Linked DNA regions of Homo sapiens: regions 2, 3 and 4 are each linked to region 1. The links are contacts of gene promoters, found by promoter capture Hi-C in blood cells and fetal thymus (Javierre and others, 2016). All regions are on one chromosome and are shown on one strand. Each heading gives the region's core, a stretch centred on a gene start or on the middle of the fragment in contact. The rest is flanking DNA. Distances are from core to core; before and after follow the strand shown. Region 1 holds the start of PLN (phospholamban). Region 2 overlaps MCM9 (minichromosome maintenance 9 homologous recombination repair factor). Region 3 overlaps MCM9 (minichromosome maintenance 9 homologous recombination repair factor). Region 4 overlaps SLC35F1 (solute carrier family 35 member F1).

The links. Contacts are between HindIII fragments. The CHiCAGO score rates a contact against its expected background, and 5 or more counts as called.
Region 2: a fragment that was not itself captured here is called in contact with the fragment with the promoter of PLN in region 1 in 5 of 17 cell types (fetal thymus, total CD4 T cells, naive CD4 T cells and 2 more); the score reaches 7.2 in fetal thymus.
Region 3: a fragment that was not itself captured here is called in contact with the fragment with the promoter of PLN in region 1 in 6 of 17 cell types (fetal thymus, activated CD4 T cells, naive CD4 T cells and 3 more); the score reaches 7.4 in fetal thymus.
Region 4: a fragment that was not itself captured here is called in contact with the fragment with the promoter of PLN in region 1 in 3 of 17 cell types (endothelial precursors, erythroblasts and fetal thymus); the score reaches 5.5 in endothelial precursors.

Annotation. Positions count from the first base shown.
Region 1 is chr6:118,546,432-118,549,957 of GRCh38, reverse strand. It overlaps PLN (phospholamban), which reads right to left and starts at 1,662. Exons shown (of 2, transcript NM_002667.5): 1 at 1,566-1,662. All of the region lies in intron 3 of CEP85L (centrosomal protein 85L), which reads left to right. The HindIII fragment of the contact is 6,726 bases long and covers 1-1,906 here.
Region 2 is chr6:118,906,252-118,909,777 of GRCh38, reverse strand. The region is part of intron 8 of MCM9 (minichromosome maintenance 9 homologous recombination repair factor); the gene reads left to right. ASF1A (anti-silencing function 1A histone chaperone) reads right to left here. Exons shown (of 4, transcript NM_014034.3): 4 at 607-2,376. The coding sequence ends at 2,164. Among named protein-coding and RNA genes, the nearest start is that of ASF1A, 14 kb to the right of the region's middle. The HindIII fragment of the contact is 1,544 bases long and covers 903-2,446 here.
Region 3 is chr6:118,888,605-118,892,130 of GRCh38, reverse strand. All of the region lies in intron 8 of MCM9 (minichromosome maintenance 9 homologous recombination repair factor), which reads left to right. Among named protein-coding and RNA genes, the nearest start is that of ASF1A, 3.8 kb to the left of the region's middle. The HindIII fragment of the contact is 2,382 bases long and covers 792-3,173 here.
Region 4 is chr6:118,273,199-118,276,724 of GRCh38, reverse strand. It overlaps SLC35F1 (solute carrier family 35 member F1), which reads right to left. Exons shown (of 8, transcript NM_001029858.4): 5 at 1,110-1,266. Among named protein-coding and RNA genes, the nearest start is that of PLN, 270 kb to the left of the region's middle. The HindIII fragment of the contact is 8,984 bases long and covers 1-3,526 here.

The sequences.
Region 1 (3,526 bases), core at 413-2,912:
AATGTATGGTACTACCACATTATATTTGAAATTTTAGCAGTCTCTGTAACTGTAATTTCTGTTAACTGAGACATACTAGTGAGCTAAGGGTAAGTTTAATATAATTTCTGCTCTATCCAGAAGTATGTGTACTTTTTAGAGTAATATGTGATATAGCAAAATTCTGATACAATAAAATAACTCGTGAACACCCAATTTGAAGTGTGAGAATGTAATTTGATAGATATTTGAATAAAAATGCACAAATAACATAAGACACCTACACTGAATGACTTTTATGTACTATCAAAGGAAAAATATGAGTATAGAGATATGGAGACACAATTAGGATACCTCAGTGGTAGACAAAAATTATGTTTTTTTATGTCTTAAGGAAAGCTGCTTACAGAGTTACAAAGTTCTTATTTGTAGTGAGCAATAGAATTAACATTTGTCATAGGAATTGAGAATTTTAGAGATAAATTTTATTTTAACATATATATGAAATATGAAAATCAAAATAAATAAAATATATGTAATTTTCTGTATGCCCTGACAGAGATCTAAGAATGAGGAAACGTTTCATTTACTAAATTGAGGATTGTAACATAAAGAATAGGGTAGAATTCAAACAGAAGTCATAAAATTGATTGTGGCATCTCCATTCCTGGCATTTATTTTATTTTTTCCTTTCTTTCTAAATCCGAGAGAGGAAATGGAGTACCACTGGAGGATAATAACTTGACAAAACTATAGGCATTAATAGGCAGAAATCCATTTAATCAAATTTGTGTGAAAATAAGATAGTTAAGAATATTCGTGTGTCAAAATAACTTTTTAAAGTATCAAATTATTCTCTAACGTCAGATTTTTTGTGTTTGTGAACATTGTTTTAAAATTTCTAAACTTCTTTATGATACAATATTGAATTTAATATCAGTAACTCAATTTATTAATAGCATGGAATTTTTTTAGAAATGTTTGTTAAAAGTTGACTGGACTTTAGAGGGGAAACATCCTCAAGGGCACTTTAAAAGTAGCTTGTATTATATATTCTGAAACTCCATTTCATTATTCACTGTATGAAATTATGATAATATTGGAATAGGCATGCTGATAATGTGCATGTTGTAGTCAAATGACTATTCATATTAGTTCAGATGTAAATAGCTCAGTTCTGCACTGTTTCTCAGCAGAGCAATAAATAACAAAATTAAGTCATTGTTTTTGCATGGAGAAATTAACCACTACTACCAAATATGGTAACATAATTGGAAGATTTTTTAATTGGCAGAAATTCACATTTGAAAAGCAAAATAAAAGTGAAAGATAAATTTAAATGACAAACCAGTAACCAGGATCAAAGATGAATATGACCTTTTTCATTTCAAAGTTGTCTCATTTTTCCTGTCACTAAATGGATAAGCATTTATAAATTTAAGCACTTTGTCATGTCATTTTATTGCCTAAGATTGAACTGATATTCATAAAATTAACTCATTTTAAAAGTTCAGATTATAGAAATTATAGGAATTAAGAATTATAGAAAGTAAGAATTACCAAAGTCAGCGAAATCTGTTTCTTACCTTGGCAGCTGTGATCATCACAGTATAGAGTATTGTGTTGTATGAAGTCTTACGGGTGTTTAGCTGGGGAGTTTTCTGACTCTGTCACCCAGTTTATGGGAACAGTTGCAGTAGGTGGAGGAGAAAAAGTGTTCTAGGGAGGTCTTATGATGTCACATAGGAATTCTGAAGTTTCGATTGGTTAGCCACAGTCTCAGTCTTATCACAACCAAACTTTAGAACTTCTTACTTTAGGTATGGAAAAGTCATTAACACTTTGTGCTTCATCTTTTGTTTTTAATTTAAAACAGTATATGGTAGATAAATGAAAAAAATAAGTAAACTTGAGGTGGTGGAAAGCTTTTGTTAAAGATTCATGCATCTTCAGGCTTAGAGATAATTGAATATTAATGGTGAAGATGTTGAAGAGCTAAAATAGTTACTGCAGGAATTTTAATTATGAGAAAAATAAACACAGGTATAAGCAAAACAACTTTCATTGAATTCTTGCTGCTGTTGCTTTAATACGTGTCTTCATAATGTTAGCTTTTAGTGAAAGTGAAATATTTTTACACAATAAAATTTTATACCTGTTTTCTTATTTTGTTCTTGTTCTTGTGTGTATGGGAGAAGGAGTATGAGAAAATCAGGCTAATTGCTTTTTGTTTTAAAAAATTATTTTTATCTTACAGTTAAAGAACTAATAAATGTATTTAATTCATTTGTGTTTTCTTCAATTAGCAGTTTAACAATATATTTGTGAATAGTAATACTTATATTTAAACTGATACATACAACACCCCCAAAATAGCAATATGCTACTTTAAGTATTTAAGATTTTTTAAAAACAATTGCATTAAATTATTACACAATCTTACCAAATTTTTAATAAACTGATGCAGTATTAAGGGCAACTTTATGGCAAAAAAGAAATAATTACAGATTCCAAATCAGTTACATCTCAGTTAATGAGGCTTTATAGGTTTGATGTGTTGAAATTTAAGTTTTGTAATGTTTTTGAAAGGATGTGCCTCATTTAATCTAGCAGTTGCTTTCCTGAAAATTACTATAAAAATGAGATGCTAGTAAGTGAGATGATATTTTGAACTTCCTAGAACAGTTTATCTTACAGTAGAACTGGGGAAATAATTTTTTTGTAAAGCCGGGCATCATTCTCCTCTTCTCTGTTTATCTAATTTGTTGTCTTAGATGTTAGATTTACTTAAGTCACCACACTCGAAAATATTAATTCTTAAATCTCTTCTTTAATTTTAGAGGAGGTACTTGTAATTTTTAATTTTTTAAATGCTTATGACAGAGTGAACTTAGCCCACTTCACTTTCTTATGGGTAACTAAAATGTGTAGCAGCAGCTGCTTACATGCCCTTAAATGGAAATGATCTTGGCTTCTTCCAAAGAAAGAAAATCCATCTCTAGAGCAAATCATTTGATATTTAAAGAGTCAGCTTAAAACTAACTGAAAAATAATATTTTAGCAAAGATATCCTGTGAACATTGCCAAGGGAAAATTTACAACTTAAAAGTAAAACCCAAGTTAAGGAAATTGCAGAATAATGTTTGATACTTTTCTCAGTGCTACAACCATTTTTCTTTCAATCCTTACATAATGAGGATCTCTCAGTACTATCAGTTACCAATGATGATTGATAATACAAAACCGAGAAGCCTAACGAGGTTTACAGTAATTTGTCAGAGATAACCAGCTGCTAAAGAATAGACAGGATTCAAATCCAGATCTGTCTGTTTATAATTCCTAATCTGTTGGCATGCTGTGGGAAAAAATTATAATTTGAATATAGCTTTCATTAGAGTAGCATATAGTAACTGAGAAATTTTTAAGATGTAAATAGATGCATTCTTGAGCACTGTTAATAGTTTTAGAAAGTCTGCTTTAAGTTTGTCTACCAGTTACACATTCATTTGAAATTTAGGTGATAGATCATTGTTCTGAGAACTTCTCA
Region 2 (3,526 bases), core at 425-2,924, 360 kb before region 1:
ATTCTTGGGAAAGCTAGAAACCCCAAATCCTAAAATTAGAGGGTATAGTTATATGGGAGCCTAAAGTTGTATAAGGTTATGAATGGGCAAATAAATGCATGCATACTTCTTCAGACCTCTGGAATGTTTTCTCAGCCCAAATAATACCCTTAATGCCTCCATCTTAGTGGCATAAGTCATTGGTTCATGTTTATATTCTTAGGACACAGCTATTTACTATGAGCAAAAGGGTGGAAAATAGTTCTTCAGATACAGTATTGGCAAATGACGCTAGACCGGGTGGAAAAAAAACTTATGTGCTACAGTTTCTTACGTTTCTAATGTTTGAAGTCTAAATCTATTTTCAGTCATTAAAAAAATTCTTAGAGTGATAAAATTTAAGATAACAAAAGGTAATGGTTCGCATGTCCCAAGCTTAAGTGAAAATTGGTTGTCCATTTACAACTTGATACAAAAACCTAACCCTTTGATGTCACTACAAATAGATTGTTATAATTAGTCAGAATAAAAACTCAGCAGTAAATGGCTTTATTTGGTGATTTGGCTGTATATGCTTTATTTCTAATAAGCACATATGTTGTTCCTATTATATTAACCACTGAGCTCTTTGTTGGAAAGTAATGCTTTTATTTTCATTTTAATATTTTAACATTTTTCTTTTAATTGCAATTAGACAAATGAGATTTTCTTTATATAGTTTTAACAGTCAGAAGTATTTTACTTTTAAAATCTATGAACTAGTTAATGGACAATATTTTAATAATCTGGTATATTAAATTCAAAGTTTAACATCTGGCAAAACTTTGCTTCACAAATTCACTTTTTTAGAATGATAGGAAATATATACAACTCAGAATCCATGTTTAGACAAATGCCCTTTTCCTTTCCTCAACATAAAAGCTTTAAAAAGTGCAGTATAAAAGTTTTAGATATGAAGGCACTGCATAACCTGCATCATATGGCTGTCTTGCTTAGCTGCAAGAATAATGAAAATATTCTACCTCAATTTTATGGAGCATAAGAAAATTTTTTGAGGAAGGACTTAACTCTCAAAGAAAAAGAAACCTTTTACCCCATTTAGTTAATGAATTCCTTTCCAAGATTGCTTTTCAAAGATTTGTTGGAAAAGCTATCTAGAGTATGTCAACCACAAATATGCCTGATCTCATTCTGCATGAGTGTCAGAGGAAATGGGGAAGAGTACTACAGGTGTGAAAATATATATATTTCCAAAATAGTAACGTATCTATTATAATAAAGCTAAATATACCTTTCTAAATCCATGGTTTTTATATAAATACTGCCAATAACATGATCTATTAAAAGAATTTTTAAAGGTCATGGTATTTTTAGAAATCAAATGAACCAATTTGAGCCATTGTAATCCCCTATTCTTAAACACAGGGAGTTTGTATTTTCTCCCGATATTGTATTTGGTCTTGAATTCACTGGACAATAATGATGTATGATTCAAGAAATGCTCTGATATTCTAAACTCTGTTATAAGAACAAAAACCATAGCCAGGGGACCTTATTAACAATTAGCCATATTTGTTCTTCTCTTACCAAACAAACCAAATGCTGTCCAACATCTCATGAACTATAATAGTAGCCATAAGAGGCTTCACGGTGGCTTGGAAAATTGGATCCTAAAGTTCTTGGTAGCATATAGTTGATTTCAAATCCTCTTTTTAAGGACATGCCAAAAAAGAATGGAAATCTGCCCCTTAAATTAAAATGATACCATATGTCTTCACAGGAAGAAACATTTTAGTTGAAGTAAACTTTGTTCTTTCAAAGGCCAGTAAAATAGTGGTCCAAAGACTGTCTGGGAGGCCAAGACATCTTTACAACCTGGTCTAATGATTCCTGTTTCTTTATAAGTGCTTTCATTACATATAAAGGAGAAGAAAATAATATATATGCTTTAATCAGATTAGTTTCAGAACAAATAAAATAACACATTAGAGAAAAAAATTACTTAAAAATAGTTGTATTTATATTCCACAATTTGTTCAAATACTGGTTTTCTTATAAACTTTCTACAGGATGTTTTTAAACAAATTCTTCACATTGTGTTTTGACTATGTACTTACGGAATTTCAGGGAAATAGTTCTGTGTATTTTTAATAGCTTAATTTGTACTAAAGGGATGGTAGGTGGTCACATGCAGTCCATGTGGGATTCTAACATGACATTTAGTGAGTTTTCTGATGTGGACCATCCCTTTGATGCTGAAGGTAATGCATCTGTTGAAAGAAGTGACTGTAGATTTGGATTACTGCTCTCTGCATCTTCCAGTTTTTCTGTGTTATCTTCCCAATTAATGTGGAATCTTGTGACCCTGGGATTAGATGCCAAAATATTCCTTTGAAGCTAGAGGAAAAAGGAAACATACAAATGGTAAACACTAAGAAAGTTAAATCACCATATACAAATAGAAGCTTAATAAAATGGTTCATGTTAGTACTCCTAAAGGGCTAAGTTCATATACAAAGGTATAATTCAAGTTAAGTACCTTAAATATAACTAATAAGATGTAACGACTAGGGCTGTAGCAAAGAAGTTATTTTAGATTAACAGAAACAAGATACGGAGAATCTGAGGGGATTCATCTGGCTTTTTAACTATTTAACTCCTATACTTCTGTTTTCTAAAAGAAAGAATCTCCTCATTTTTGAAAATGAATGCTTCAGAAGATGCTTTATTTAACAAGCTACTATGTTGTTTAGATTGGTATGTTTTCAAAGGAAAATGAAAAATTGTCAAATACAACTTATTATTAATGGTTTCCTACACCTTTTAAAGATGGCTCATTCTTAGAAACAGTCCTGTTTCTTTTGTGCTATATAAGGTGCTTCAGGGATAACAAATTGGATCAATGGAAGGTACAACAAGGGTGAAAAATAGTCCGGCCTTATTATCAGAAAGAACATGAGAACATTCTATTCTATTGTCATGTAATTTTTCTTGCATGGTTCAACTTCATTTACTCTGCACTCTCACAAAATCACCAGTTACCAAACTGTTATAGTTCCCAGTGAAAAATCAGAAAATACTAAGTATCTTTAAGAATGCTGAATCCTAGATTTCAGCTTCTCACTCAGAATTTAAGCTGTTTTCAGTACCAGAAATATTTAAGACTGTTAGTTTAACTTCTAAGAATAGCAGATAAAGCGTATAGGTGTTTTGAGATAACCGTATTCATAGGAAAAACAAACATAAAACTTTCATAATTTTGGGAAGAGTTACACACAAAAATATCATCATTGAATAATTAGTACAACAAAAATGCATTTGTTTGTCCTAAAGGTTGAAATGAACAGAATCATGATGGGAATAATCAATATGGGAAATGCTATAAAGAAAGCCATAAACAAAGGCCTGTCTTACAAGAAGTACTTTCTCTGGGCGTGGTGGCTCACACCTGTAATCCCAGCACTTTGGGAGGTCAAGGTAGGCAGATCACTTGAGGTCAGGAGTTGGAGACTACCCTGGCCAACATGGTGAAACTCCACCTCTACTA
Region 3 (3,526 bases), core at 733-3,232, 340 kb before region 1:
TACCTTACTCCAGGAGAGACCGAAAGGATTCCTCAGATATGTCCTGGCATATTTCTAATTTAACTGGTATGCTGTAGGAAAAAAAGAATTGTGAAAGCCTCTCTCTGGTTTCAGAGGCAATCAGTAGGACTTGTTGCTGAACAACTTTGGTGACTCCCAAACATCTAATTGTACAACAGATGGGTCACTGTGAATGTCTTTATTAAGTACCCAAGGGGGTCCCACATAATGTTTGGAGGGCTGCATGGAATGTAATCCCCCAATCACTTCTCACTATGGGTTACTTGGGGGAAGGATGGCTGAGAGAGATTTTATCGGCTCTAAGATGAACAGAACAAAGCCTAAACTAGTGCTTAGGGCAGAAATACATGAAACTAGTTAGTTGTTGTTTTAGACTGAATTATGTCTCCCCCAAATTCGTATGTTGAAGCACTAATCCCTAGTACCTCAGAATGTGACTGTATTTGGAGATTAAGTTAAATGAGGTGATTGGGGTGGGCCCTAATCTAATCTAGCTGGCGTCCTCACAAGGGGAAATTTAGATTTACAGAGAAGCACAAGGGTCACACGCACACAGAGGAAACACAGCAAAAAGGTGGCCATTTGCAAGCCAAGCAAAGAGGCTTTAGAATAAACCAAACCTGCCAACACCTTGATCTTGGATTTCTAGCTTCCAGAACTGTGAGAAAGTAAATTTCTATTGTTTAAGCCACCCAGTGAGTGATATTTTGTTATGGCAGCTCTAACAACCTAATATAGCTATAAGATATTTTTCCCCTCAGAATTAAGCTTATTTGAGCATCTAATCTTACTGAATCCAAATATTGGTCAGTTCCCAAGCACTTCCTGTGGGTGAAATGATGTGGTCCTTTAGCCATGCCAGTAAGGGTGTGGCGTATGTGGAGTGGTGTGCTGTTGCCATTCTTCAGAGGAAGTATATACCACTGGGCATATAGCTTGAATTCTGAAGACACAAGATGCAGCTTACTTGCATGGATTCAAGACTCCTCTACAGAGAAGTGAAACTTGAAGTCAAATTGAGGTCATACACAAAACAAGATGAAAGAGCGAATTCAAATATACTAAAATTGAATTAAATCAAAATGTGCCAAATTAAAATACATTAGAACTAGGAATTAAATTGAGTGTCAGCCCGTGTCTACTGCAAAAGTTATCATAGGAATGGAAGTACTAACCTCTAGCTTTTGTTCAAATCTAGATTTCCACCTCGGGTAATCACTGTGTTGAATTGTCTTCTCATTTGTATTATTACCAACTTAAAAAAATTCCTCATGTAAGGCTTGTTTTAATATGGTCTTTAGTTAGTTTAAGAGGCTCCTTTTTATTTATTAGAAATAGGATGTCAAAATTTAATGATAGTTTTAAATAAAATTTTCTGTATAAATATAGACTAGAGATTTGATGGAGTTCATAGACATTTCTAAATGGAGTAAATTGTACAATAATGATTTCAATAATAATTCATTACATACATACAGAGAGCATTTGTTATGTGAAATTTTTATGCTAGGCTCTGTGAGAAATAGTCAAAGATAAGACATACAAAGACCTTATGGTTCAGTAGGAAAGGTAACTAATCAAATAAGTATGATGCGAAATAGAAAGTGTTAGATGCACCTGTAACCAGTTATGTTAAAATAGGCAAAAGAAAAAATGTTTTCTTGACAATTTGTAAAAAACTTTAAAATACCTGTTTTTGAGCCTCACAAACAGGAATGGCAGGAGGGTAAGATATCATCCCATATAACAAATGAGGATGCTGCTGCTCAGAAACCCATTCCTCTGATGGCTGTCCTAGTACCTTTGTACTCTCTACCATGTCAAGTAAATTTTAAAGTGGGCTTTGTATGTAGAAAAAATAGATTGGTATCATTTTCTGGAAGAACCCACAGGCTGGCGGACACTCCAGTAATGACTTGATTAATGAACTCTTGAGGAACAAAGCTCCATTAATGAGGTTGGTCCAGGTGTATACTGGGAGAGAGAAGGAGACCCAGCCAAGGCAAAGCTGGGGGAGGCTCCCCACGGGGTACTACAGATGTCAAGCCTCCTGTTGAAAAAGGCATCCCTTGGAAGGTGTGGGGGATGGAGCTACACATCCTGGAATGCATCCTTATACTTTTTATAAGGTTTCCATGTCTGTTACATAGCGTACCCTCTCCCCTTCTCTGCTCCACGTCATTAATAAAAGTTTCACTGTTTTGTGTTCTTTTCTACCCATCATTGTGTTAGAAGTTTGTTGAAGGTATAAGCTATATCTGATCCCTTATCCATAGCTGGACTATACTGTAAAACACCTTTTGCATAGCCATAGGTTACATCAGTCAGCTTTCTGAAGCACTGTAATTACATTTATTGACAGTTTCTTGGTGTGTATATCATTATGTTGTTTTTGACCATTTTGAAGGGAAATGCCTAATAATTATTTTCTGTTTCTTATACCTAGTTTTTTGTCTGTGTCTTCTTAGTCCTCTTATCAATCAAGGTCTTTCTAAACTCGTTTCCTCTTGAACTCAAGTCTCTACTTGCAGTCCATCTTCCTTCATGTTTTATAATATATTCCATCCTTTTCTCTCTAACCCTCTACTGCTCTCATTCATCAGAGGTTCACTTTTTAATACCAGGAAAAAAAACAGTAATCGGTAGAGAGGACTCAAATCTTTAAAACATCTCTAGGCTAGACCACTGCTCGTACAAAGCCATTACTAAGCATAGCAGCTTTTCTAGTTGGTTACTATAGAGACAAATGACATTAGATGGAGTGACGCTTGGCAGAAGCTAGGCATGTAGGCTTTGTGAGATTGGAGGCCTCATATGCATGGTCATTTAGAAAGAGTCAAAAACCAGAAAGGATAGGGAGGGGAAATGCTTCACAAATGAGCTAATAGGTAATTAATTGGTAGAAATTTGGTTGGTAGAATTTGTGCCTGATAAGGCTTTGAATCCGGCATGCAAAGAATCCACCTCTAAGTACCCCCTGGTATGATTACACAGTAATATTTTTCAGGTAACAGCTTTGTTGAGATAGAATTCACATAACATGTAATTCACTCATTTGAAGCATCTGAGTCAATAGTTTTTAGAATATTCAGAGGTGTGCAACCATCATCACAATCAATTTTAGAGTATTTTCATGATCTCAAAAAGAAGCTTTGTAGCCTTTAGCACATCCCCCTCCCCAGCATATCCCCCAAGCAGTAGGCAAGCACTGAATTACTTTTTGTCTCTATAGTTTTGCCTATTCTAGACATTTCATATAAACGGAATCTTATAATATGTAGTCTTTTATGACCAGCATCTTTGAAGCATAATGTTTTTGATGCTTCTTTCATGTTGTGTTATATATTGATGCTTTATTCCTTTTTATTACCCAATAATTTTCCATTGTATAGGTATACCACGTTTTATTTATCTGTCAGTTGATGGACATCTAGGTGGTTTCTACTTTTTGGCTATTACACAAAATGCTGCTATTAACATATGTGTACAAATTTTTGCATGGGAT
Region 4 (3,526 bases), core at 371-2,870, 270 kb after region 1:
ACTCAAGAATAATAACCCATAAAAGAAGCCATCTATCTACAAAATGTTGGCTATGAATAGTTGAACTAGATAATTCCTTTTCCTTTCACAAAGCTGAAGCACAAAATTTAGGAGCTTTAAAATGCCATCACTTTCAAAATGGACCCCAAATAAATCCTTCTCAGACTGTGCCTTGTTTGCTGTGAAGTTTTTCACCAGTATCTCAAGACACCAAAATTTGGTGGATTGTTGAAAACAGCCTATTTGTAAAACCTGTTTAAGGTGATGCTAAAATATCTTCCATAAATAATTTCAGACACTGAACCCATGCAATTAGAAAGTGCTTGCTTTGTAGAAAGAGATTGGTGAAATCAGAATTACCTGTTTGTAGAAAGGGATTCAGTAAAATTTGACTGGAGGTTATACTATCATTCTTCATGTCTTTCATGAAGCTAAAATATTGGTCTTTACTGGTGGAAAATTGCTTTGATTGAAACTTATGCTCATAACAAATTCTGAGGCAATAGTCAGGGATGACTTATACGTTCCAGTTGTAGAATTATTGCAAAACTGGTGCTTTTGACTTTGTGATGCTTAGTGAATGTCTGTATTATAACTTCACCTTTTTAAGGAAAATAGAAATGCTAAATTCTAAGAGATAAATTTGAAATATGGTCCACTCTTGCAAATCCACGGGCAGTAAAATCACACATTTATAAAAGGGTAATTTTATACTATAAGTTTTCTATTGGTGGTTGTCACTAGTAGACAGAATGTTCCTTTTTGGAAATGCATTGAATTGGGGCATTTATGCTTAGTTTTTCTACTTCTCTAAGTAATAACCCACTCATGGATTTCAGAGAATCAATCCTAATGCTTCTAATGCTTTCCTGCAAATTATTTACAATGTTTTATAAACATTAAGTGTTTTGTAAAAATTTATATTAAACTTGTTTAATTTGGAGGTGATTTACTAATAAAGATATTGAGTTGGCAGATTACATAAGTCCTTTGTACAGGAAGCTGGTGTCTGGATTCCAGCCTTGATTTTTACATCCCAAGAACAAAAATTGTAAGAATAAGTCTTGACAGTCCCTCTACTATCTATATTTCTTGTTATTTTTACTCACAATTGAATTCCACTGAAAAATGCTCCAAAGAGACCAATCATTCCCAGGAATTCCACTCGGCTCAGAGTTCGGATGATGTATTCTTCCCAGACGTTAGAAATACCATAGAGTGTGGCTCCTCCTAAGACCAGAAGGTCCCCTACCAGCTTATTTTCCCCTAGGAACCAACCAAACAAACAAACAGAGGGAGCATCATTAAAACTTTCTTAACAAGAATCTGGCATCGGCAAATTGAGCTTCCCTTGCCTATTCTATTTTGACATTTTTATAGAAGTCATGCAATTTCCAACTGAGATTTAGTAAAGTTTATCTGTGCTCTAGACACGTTCTGATATAAAAAGTTTGCCTATGTTGACACAATTAGAAGTCTTCTCTAAGAAAGAGATCAGTCTCTTCCAGATCACACCCTCTCTACAAAGCCCACTATCTTCTGTCCAGGTATCAGATTTTCACTTATCAGATTTATACAAATATGAAGTGGCACGATCTCGGCTCACTGCAACCTCCACCTCCCAAGTTCTAAGGGATTCTCCTGCCTCAGCCTCCAGAGTAGCTGAGATTACAGGCACCTGCCACCACACCTGGCTAATGTCTATGAATATATGCTAATACATGCACAAGTTATATTGGTTTCAGGACATTTTCCAGCAGTTTAGTGAACATGGCATAGAACAAACAGAATCAGTATACATTTCCACCCTCTGCTATTCAGGGAGGGAAGCTATAACAGAAGCCGTCAAGATTGCACTTTGACCATGGGCAAAATGTGTAACTGTTAGAAAATGAGAGTGAAAGGATTTATGGGTTGAAATTTTCAACTCCCCTGAGGTAAGTAACATAAGAGTGTAAATATATGTAATTCACTATCACATTAATATTTTTTCATTAAAAATTCTTTTTGTTTTAAACTCAATTTTGGGCTGGGCGTGGTGGCACACGCCTGTAATCCTAGCATTTTGGGAGGCCGAGGCGGGTGGATCACCTGACATCAGGAGTTCGAGACCAGCCTGGCCAATATGGCAAAACCTTGTCTCTACTAAAACTACAAAAATTAGCCAGATGTGGTGGCGGGTGCCTGTAATCCCAGCTACTTGGGAGGCTGAGGCAGAAGAATCCCTCAGAACCCGGGAGGTGGAGGTTTCAGTGAGCCGAGATCATGCCACTTCACTCCAGCCTGGGGGAAGCGTGACATTCTGTCTCAAATAAATAAATAAATAAATAAAAATAAACTCAATTTTGGTTGATTTAAAACAAAATAAATGCTTTACCCAGGTATTTCCTAGAATTGGGCAAACTTCCCACTCCAGGAAGTATGGAGCCAGGGAAGGAGGAGAGCAGAAATAAGCAGCTAGAGTGGCCTCACTGGTGGGCTCTGTACCCAAGTGGTCTCTGGCTCTGTCCTGCATAAGTCAGCAGTGCAGGAGCTCAGCTGACCTGCAGCTCTGGGGCAGTGGAAGTTGAGGATGGAAAGGGTGCTTACTCCAGCATGATTCTAAGGAAAGGACTCATGATAGCTTAGCCCTGGATTCCCCGATGAGCCTGGGTTCTCACTGTTCAGTGGGGAGCACTGAGTGTTTTTAGGTAGTGGCTTCACATCAAAGAATCTGGGCATCAAAGAATCAGTGGCTTCACATCAAAGAATCTGTGGTCACCTTGGAAGATTCTATCTCTAAATGGTGCCACTTTTTCTAAGGCAACTTCTTTTTCCTGTCAAGGATTGGAGATAGAGGGGAAGAGATCCTGAAGGCAGCATTGTGCTGGAGTCATCCTCAAGGGAATGGAGCTGAGAATGGGATTTTGTGAGAGCTGGAAGTTCTCTTTGGGTTCATGGGGAGTTAGGCATCACTGCCCAGGAGATGAGCTGAGAATCTGATGAGGCCCTAATGAGAAACCAGACTTGGTGAGAGGTCCCTGGGCAGATCTTTTAGGAAAATTAAGGTTGCTGTGACAGAATGTGAAATCTTTGGCAACCTGATTAATCTTTTTTATGTGTCAACTATAAAACAATGACAAACTTTTAATTTTAAGTAGTTCCTCTGAAGAATGACCCATAAAATAGAATGTATCTATAACTAAAATTGTAAAATTATAATGAACATGATCCAGTCTCTTCACTCAGAAGACATTTTAGAATCTTGTGATGACATGGGGTCATTATTATGAATATCAATTATTGTTGTACTAGTGAAGTGTGGAAGTGCTGCATAATATAACTCTTGGTTAATAAATTTAATGTTATAGAATGAATTGAAGAAAGCTAAATCATAATGAAATATTTTAATAGAAATTAGGGAAGCATCAATCTACCTTTTAAAAGTCCTAAAAAGAGGACACACTGTTTCAGTGAATAGTCTCACCAATATTTTTCAAACGCCACACTGTTATGGCCTCTTCTGTTAACTAGCCTTTGACTGTAG